Linked DNA regions of Homo sapiens: all the other regions are linked to region 1. Evidence: promoter capture Hi-C in 16 types of primary human blood cells and fetal thymus (Javierre and others, 2016). All regions are on one chromosome and are shown on one strand. Each heading gives the region's core, a stretch centred on a gene start or on the middle of the fragment in contact. The rest is flanking DNA. Distances are from core to core; before and after follow the strand shown.

The links. The method cuts DNA at HindIII sites, captures the fragments that hold promoters and counts their contacts. A CHiCAGO score of 5 or more calls a contact.
Region 2: the fragment with the promoter of CYP4F3 here is called in contact with the fragment with the promoter of CYP4F11 in region 1 in 12 of 17 cell types (naive CD8 T cells, total CD4 T cells, total CD8 T cells and 9 more); the score reaches 10.5 in naive CD8 T cells.
Region 3: a contact is called between a fragment that was not itself captured here and the fragment with the promoter of CYP4F11 in region 1, in 1 of 17 cell types (M0 macrophages). The highest score is 5.2, in M0 macrophages.

Annotation. Positions count from the first base shown.
Region 1 is chr19:15,933,269-15,935,968 of GRCh38, reverse strand. It overlaps CYP4F11 (cytochrome P450 family 4 subfamily F member 11), which reads left to right and starts at 1,440. Exons shown (of 12, transcript NM_021187.4): 1 at 1,440-1,758. The coding sequence starts at 1,561. The HindIII fragment of the contact is 9,699 bases long and covers 1-2,700 here.
Region 2 is chr19:15,639,528-15,642,227 of GRCh38, reverse strand. CYP4F3 (cytochrome P450 family 4 subfamily F member 3) reads right to left here and starts at 1,331. Exons shown (of 13, transcript NM_000896.3): 1 at 1,283-1,331; 2 at 615-813. The coding sequence starts at 812. The HindIII fragment of the contact is 7,096 bases long and covers 1-2,700 here.
Region 3 is chr19:15,619,503-15,622,202 of GRCh38, reverse strand. CYP4F8 (cytochrome P450 family 4 subfamily F member 8) reads right to left here. Exons shown (of 13, transcript NM_007253.4): 4 at 2,660-2,700; 5 at 2,441-2,568. Among named protein-coding and RNA genes, the nearest start is that of CYP4F8, 5.6 kb to the right of the region's middle. The HindIII fragment of the contact is 5,324 bases long and covers 1-2,700 here.

The sequences.
Region 1 (2,700 bases), core at 191-2,690:
TCTGTAGAGCGCCCAGCACACAGTGGACACACTTTTCATAGAGCACTTGGCACACAGTACACAACATGTATACAGAGTACCTGGCACATGGTAGGTGTGCTTTATTTAGAGTCCAGTACACAGTAAAAGAACTTTGCATATTGTCTTTTGCAAAGAGCAGAGACTGACACACAGCAGCTAAAGTGCTAGCTGCCAGCCCCTTCCCTTCACTCCCTCCTCAGAATCTTTCATCTGTCCCCATCTAAGGCCCATTTTCCTGTGATCCCTCCTCTGTCCCCCTCTAAGGCCTTATCTGACATCCCATTTCCCAGATGGGAAGCCTGAGTCCAGGAGGGGCTCACTACCCACAGTTAGGGCAAGGGGAGGGCAGAATAAGGACTCCACTCAGGGTCCCCCATCTCTGCCCTCCTGTCCCTGGCCCCATCCACTCATGGCCCCTCTCAGCCTTACCTCCCATCTCCCCTCTCTGTCCTCCTATGCTGAACCTAGCCTCCAGGTATTCTCCTCCAGCGGGGCTCTTTATCTCTAAAATCTGACCGGGTAATCCCCAGCACAGTTAGATAGTTTGTTCCTACTCCTGTCAGTCATGTCTCGACCCAGGCCCTGGGTTGCCTGGAGGCAGGACTTGAACTCCTGCCAGACTGTGAAGCCAGAGGCCAGGAGCTTCTGTCTCTGAATCTCCTAAGTCTGCACTGAGAAATGGTGCATGATGAACTCCTGGACCACATGTGGAGAGGAGCTCAGAACATGATCTGGCACAATGGTTGGCCTGGCCCCACTCTCTTGCCACCTGAACTCTCAAGTTCATGACTTTATCTGCCACACTCTTGCCTTGGAAGGGCAAGGTGGCTGTAAACTTTGGGGCTCAGAGTCACCTTTGACTCTTCCTCAAGATCCCCTCCCACTCAGGTGTGAGATGTTGAGACCTGCGGATCCTGTGCCCATGCTGTGTCACCCTGAGCTGGCTCCTCTGCACCCAGCTGGCCCTACGCCAGGTTTTGGTTGGTTGCCCAGGCTTGGAAGACACACCCAGTCCATGGGGATTGGCTCGACCAGCCCAGCCCAGCCTCGCCTCCCACAGCCTTCCGGAAATCAGGGGCCAGAGGCAAAGACCTCCTAGCAGAGGGGGAGAGGAGGGTATGTGGGACAAGCTGCTTCTGATAGGAGCCAGGCTGGCAGTGGCAGGGCTGGAGGGTCCTGGCCTGGGATGGGGAGGGGACTGCCCAAGGTTGGGGTGGGTCAAGGCTGCTGGCCTGGGAGACTGGTGATTTCCTGGTAACTGGACCCCTGGCAACCTCCCAGTGATTCAGGCTGGGCCTTTTTGGATTCTAATCAGCCTCTCTCTCTCTTTCCCTTTCTGTGTAACTGGAGGCCACTTGGCTGCTGGTTTTCATTGGGCATTTCTGGACTTTAGATCTCAGCTCTTGTTTACCCATCTCAGAGCCTTCCCTGATCTGCCTCCAGCACTGCCCATCCTTGCCCCTTTCCACTGTCCTTGGAGCTTCCTGGGCCCTTCCCTGGGCCTCAGGATCCCACCCTCCATCCCGTCTGCCCTGCAGGATGCCGCAGCTGAGCCTGTCCTGGCTGGGCCTCGGGCCCGTGGCAGCATCCCCGTGGCTGCTTCTGCTGCTGGTTGGAGGCTCCTGGCTCCTGGCCCGCGTCCTGGCCTGGACCTACACCTTCTATGACAACTGCCGCCGCCTCCAGTGTTTTCCTCAACCCCCGAAACAGAACTGGTTTTGGGGACACCAGGGCCTGGTGAGTTTGTCAGCAGGACGGGTCTGGGGTCTCAGGATGCATGGAGTTCCTGAGGGGCAGGAATGGGGCTCAGGGAGCTGGGTTTTGAGGGTGGCTGGGGTGTGGGAACACAGAGAAGAGAGGGAGGCAGCTCACTCATTCCTCTGCCCACTCACTCATTCCTCTCCCCGCTCACTCATTCCTCTGCCCACTCACTCATTCCTCTGCCCACTCACTCATTCCTCTCCCCGCTCACTCATTCCTCTCCCCGCTCACTCATTCCTCTCCCCGCTCACTCATTCCTCTCCCCGCTCACTCATTCCTCTGCCCACTCACTCATTCCTCTTCTCGCTCACTCATTCCTCTGCTCACTCACTCATTCCTCTCCTCACTCACTCATTCTTCTCCTCACTCACTCATTCTTCTCCTCACTCACTCATTCCTCTGCTCACTCACTCATTCCTCTCCTCACTCACTCATTCTTCTCCTCACTCACTCATTCCTCTCCTCACTCACTCATTCTTCTCCTCACTCACTCATTCTTCTCCTCACTCACTCATTCCTCTCCTCACTCACTCATTCTTCTCCTCACTCACTCATTCCTCTCCTCACTCACTCATTCTTCTCCTCACTCACTCATTCTTCTCCTCACTCACTCATTCCTCTCCTCACTCACTCATTCTTCTCCTCACTCACTCATTCCTCTCCTCACTCACTCATTCTTCTCCTCACTCACTCATTCCTCTCCTCACTCACTCATTCTTCTCCTCACTCACTCATTCCTCTCCTCACTCACTCATTCTTCTCCTCACTCACTCATTCCTCTCCTCACTCACTCATTCCTCTCCTCACTCACTCATTCCTCTCCTCACTCACTCATTCTTCTCCTCACTCACTCATTCTTCTCCTCACTCACTCATTCCTCTCCTCACTCACTCATTCCTCTCCTCACTCACTCATTCC
Region 2 (2,700 bases), core at 82-2,581, 290 kb after region 1:
CCGCAAAGGGGAGAGCAGGTCTAAGTCAGAGGGCAAGGTCTGGGGGAGGAGAAAGGTCAGGGAAGGCTTCTGAAAGGGGAAGTGAGTGGCCAACTTTTATGTGGGTTTGGCAACAGGACCCCATTGGGACATCTTACTGGGGAGGAACAAGATAAGAGGAAGGTGCCTCCGGATGTGGTGGAGGTGAGAGACAGCCCACACCTCTCCTCTGGCCCACCTATACCCTCATAAGAGGAAATAGGCCAGGTAGGGAGAGGACCCTGAACAGTGGGTACAGGAGGCCTCGAGTCCAGCAATGGAGAATGTGGGAACGCCAGGGGTTCACCTTTCTGTGCACCCAACCCCCTGCCCAAGAGCCCCGCAGAGGTGCATTAATGTGGAAAGACAGGCAGGAAAAGGATTCAACACAGGCCAAGAGTGGGAGAACAGGGAGGTGAGAAGGGCTTGGGTTGGCACCTCACAGAAATGAGTAAGCAGAGGAATGAGTAAGACGCCTCCCCTGCTTCTCTGCCACCCCAGACCCCAGCCCACCCCCTCTCACCTGAGCCTCATTCTTACCCCTCAGGAAGTCCATCCACCCTGAGACCCCAGACCCGTCCTGCTGCCACACTCACCAGGCCCAGGTGACCCAAGAACCAATTCCGTTTCGGGGGTTGCGGGAAACACCGGAGGCGGCAGCAGTTGTCATAGAAGGTATAGGTCCAGGCCAGGATGCGGGCCAGGAGCCAGGAGGCCCCAACCAGCAGCAGGAGCAGCCACGGGGATGCTGCCATTGGCCAAAGGCCCAGCGAGGACAGGCTCAGCTGTGGCATCCTGCAGGGCAGATGGGGTGGTGAGTGAGGTCCTGAGGCCCAGGGAAGGGCCCAGGGAGCTCCAGGGACAGTGGAGAGAGGCAGAGACGGGCAGTGCTGGAGATAGAACAGTAAGAGTAAACAGGGATGGATAAACAGGGGCTGAGGGGTAAAGTCCAGAAAGGCCCAGCCAAAACCAGCAACCAAGTGGCCTCCAGTTACCCGGTAAGCACTTAGATTGAGAAAGACAGAGAAACTGATTAAAGTCCAGAAAGGCCCAGCCTGAATCATTAGGACGTTGCCAGGGGCTTGGTTTCAGTTAGAAAACCACTCATCCTCCAAGCCAGCAACCAGGAGCTGCCTGGGCCTTGGGCAGCAATGGAGAATGTGGGAAGGCTGGGGCTCCCCTATGTGTGCGCCCAATCCCTTGCCCAGTGCCCATCTCCATCACAGGCTAGGATGCCCCAGGCCCACCACCCCCACCCTGGCACCTTCTGTCAGGAGCACCTTGTCCCACACAACCTCCTCTCCCCTTCTTCTGGGAGGTTTTTTCCCCTGGCCCCTGATGTAGGGAAGGCTGTGGGAGGCTAGGCTGGGCTGGGCTGGGCCAGCCAATCCCCACAGCCTGGGTGCCGCTCCCATGTCTGGGCAGCTGGCCAAAACCTGGGTGTGGGAGACCAGCTGGATGCAGAGGAACCAGCTCAGGGTGACACAGCACAGGCACTGGATCCTCAGGTCTCAGCACCTCCCACATAAGGTGGAGAGTAAGCCGAGAGGGGTCAGATAGAGTTTCCACTGTGTGACACCTGCTCTTAAAGAGCACCTACTGAGTGTGTGGCAGATAAAAGCATGAACTTGAGAGTTCAGGTGTCAAGCGAGCCAGGCCAGGCCAAGCCTTGTTCCAGATCATCTCCTGTGCTCCTCTCTAACCCTGGGCCGGTAGGACACCGTGTACCACTTCTGGATGCTGAATCAGGCAACCTGGAAGAGACAAGCCTCTATCCCCCTGCTGCTGGATGGAGTTCAAGTCTTGCCTCCAGGCAGTCCAGGGCCCTGTTGGAGACCTGACTGCTAGGAACGGGAACAAAGAATCCAGCCCCACTGAGGATTACCTGGGTCAGATTCTGGAGATTAAGAGCTCAGCTGGAAAAGCAAATCTGGAGGCCGGACTCAGTATAGGAGGACAGAGCGGGGACGTGGAGGGTTAGGATGAGAGGGAACGGATGGGGTCCAGGCAGGGGAAGGGCAGAGCCAGGGAACCATGAATGGAGTCCTCATTCTGCCTCATCCTTGCTCTGACTTTGGTCAGTACTGCCCCTCCTGGGTGCAGTCTTCCCATCTGGGAAATGGGATGTTCGATGAGGGCCTTAGCGGGGGACAATGAGGGCTCCTAAGAGGAGGGAGCCCCAAAAAGGAGTGAAGGGAAAGGGTGGCAACTAGCACTTGAGCTGCTGTGTGCCAGTCTCTACTCTGCACAAAGGCTGCATGGAAAGTACTTCTACTGTGTGCCAATACTCTAAATGAAGGGCAGCTACTGTGTGCCAGGTGCTAAATCCTGTCTACTCTGTGCCAAGTGCTTTCCATAAAGTGTGCCTACTGTGTGCCAGGTGCTCTACATTAACCCTGTATACTCAGTTCCTGATATTCCTCATAGAGTGCCTACTGTGTGCCACCTGCTCTACATAGTGAGTGCCTATTGAGTGCCACCCCCTGTATATGAAGAGTGCCCACTGAGCACCAGTTGCTGTCTACATAACACATGCCTACTGAGTGCCAAGTGCTCTACATAAACAGTGCCTACTGATACCACCTGCTCTATATGGTGACTTCCTACTGAGTGTTTCCTGATCTACATAAAGAGGGTCTATTGAGTGCTGCCTGCTCGAGTGTTGCCTGTGCTCCATAAAGT
Region 3 (2,700 bases), core at 79-2,578, 310 kb after region 1:
GCAGGGCTGGGGCCAGGCCTTGGCTCCTCTGAGTCCCCCTGCAACCCCAACCACCAGGATGGACTCCCCCAGAGGCATGCTCCTGGTTTTCTGTCCCAGACCCCCATCCTCAGGGAGGACTACGCTTGGGTGAGAGTGGAAGCTGTTACTATTAGGAGATGAAGATCCCATGGCTGGGTTCAAGCCCCAGCTGTGATTCCTAAGCTGTGTGTACCCTTGGTCAACTCACAGCCCTCCTCTAGGTCTCACCTGTCAAATCCTCAATAGCAATCAAGATGACCTGCTTTGATGCCAGGGAGCCAGGCTAGAACCCCTTTTCCCCCACTCTTAGACTCACTGACAAGCTGGGTGAACTTGGGAAATCTCTCTAACCTCTCTGGCCCTCAGTTTCACCATTTGTCATGGCATGGGGGAGAGGGTGGAAAATATCCTCTACTTCACAAGGCGGTGTAAATTAAATGAGACCACATACACCATGGAATAGGCATATTACATCATTTCTGTCATATGATGAGTTCTCAATAAATATTATCTTGATTCATCTTCATTGTTATAAATTGATTACAAAAAGTCCCTGTGATCCCCCTGAACATTTTTTTCTGAGCATGCCAAGAATGCAAAACTCTGAAGTTTTGTTGTTGTTGTTGTTTGTTTGTTTTGTTTGTTTGCTAGTTTTTGAGATGGAGTCTCGTTCTGTTGCCCAGGCTGGAGTGCAGTGGCACAGTCTTGGCTCACTGCAACCTCTGCCTGCTGGGTTCAAGCAATTCTCCTGTCTCAGCCTCCTGAGTAGCTGGGGTTACAGGCACGCACCACCACGCCCTGCTAATTTTTGTATTTTTAGTAGAGACAGGGTTTTGCCATGTTGGCCAGGCTGGTCTCGAACTCCTGACCTCAAGTGATACCAATGTGCTGGGATTACAAGCATGAGCCACCACACCCGGTCAACCCTGAGGTTCTTAATCTGGGCTATTTCTCAGCATTGTGTTTGCAGAGAACAGCCTTGGGGTATAAGGTAATGGCTCCTCTGGGACACACGTTAGGCTTATTCTGCTTGCTCTAAAAGCTGATTCTCTAAGCCTAATGCTCCTCCCCATCATGCAAATATACTACATGGCAGGCATCTATAGAAGCCCACCTTATCACCCCAGGGAATTTGGGTGGCTTAGAGAAAGGATCCAAACCAACAAGATGCACATGCCACTTGCTGAGACATGAGTAATAAACTTTTGTCTTTGACCCAGAAGTCTCGTGTCTTCTGGCAGAATCCATGCAAAAGTAACAAGCTAATTTATTAGCTCACAGGAGAAAAAAAAATCCTAGTCGTTTCACAAAACGCTTGGCTCCATTTCTTCTCTTCTCCCTGCATCCACATCTTTTGCAATGTGATTTTTTAGCAACTTCCATTAAGAGATGGAGCCTATTTTGCCCCACATTGATTCATGGTGGACGTTTTACTTTTTTTGGCCAATAGAATGTGGTGAAAATGATAAGGCCATAACTAGTGAGAAGTTGACTGGGTGCAGCAGCCCATGCCTGTAATTCCAGCATTTTGTGAGGCCGAGGAGGGCAGATCACTTGACGTCAGGAGTTCAAGACCAGCCTGCCCAACATGGTGAAACCCTGTCTCTACTGAAGATACAAAAAATTAGTTGGGCATGGTGGTGGGCGCCTGTAATTCCATCTACCCACGAGGCTAAGACAGGAGAATTGCTTGAGGCGGGGGTTGCAGAGAGCCAAGATCGCACCACTGCACTCCAGCCTGGGAGACAAAGCGAGACTTCATCTCAAAAATAAAATAAATAATAATAACTAGTGAGAAGCATTGTATCCTCCTCTCACTGCCTTGGAATCCTGTCTCTGCCATGTGAGCAATCCTGGGGTGTCATCTAGAGGCAGAGAATCACATGGAGAAAAGTCCAGGTGTCCCAGCTGAGGCCATCCTAAATCAGCCAGAAGCCAGCAAAGCTCCAAATATGTGAGAGAACTGAGCTGGCACAAGCAAAGCTGCCTACCTGACCCACAGCTGCTCTTATACCATGAGGGATCCTATCCACATGCAGAAGGGCTGGCCAACAGTCCCACAGATTTGTTAGCAAATATAAACCCTTATTGCTCTAAACCAATTAGTTTTGAAGTGATCTGTACTCAGCAATGACTACTATGCACGTGTCATCATTCCTTTCTTGAGTTTACAGGGCTTCTGTGAGAAAAATGTGGAAATTGACTCCTTCTGACCACCTACTAAGTGTCAGAGACATGAGTCCATTACATGCTCCTACCACCTTTTAGTGAGGATTATTAGCCTCATGGGGAAATCAAGGCACAGAGAGGAAGAGCAATGGCCCCAAACCCACCCAGGAGAGCCAACATTCCAGACCCAATTGTATGTGATCCCTCCACCCCAAGGCTGCAGCTGGGATGCTGAGTTCAAGGCACTCACATGCATGATGTTTGCACTCTTGCTGAAAATCTTTATATAGGGCTTCAGGATGTTGAAATGGAAGGCAGGCGTCAGCAAGCGACGGTGGTGTCTCCACTTGTCACCAACACTTAACAAGAGCCCATCCCCTAGTACGGCAGCCAAAGGCTGTGGGCAAGGGCAGAATCTTCCCCTGGCCACAAAAGTTGGTCCCCGTCCCGTCCACCTACAGTTACTTACCCAGCCAGGGCTTCAGGGTCTTGTAGAAGACTATGTCCTTG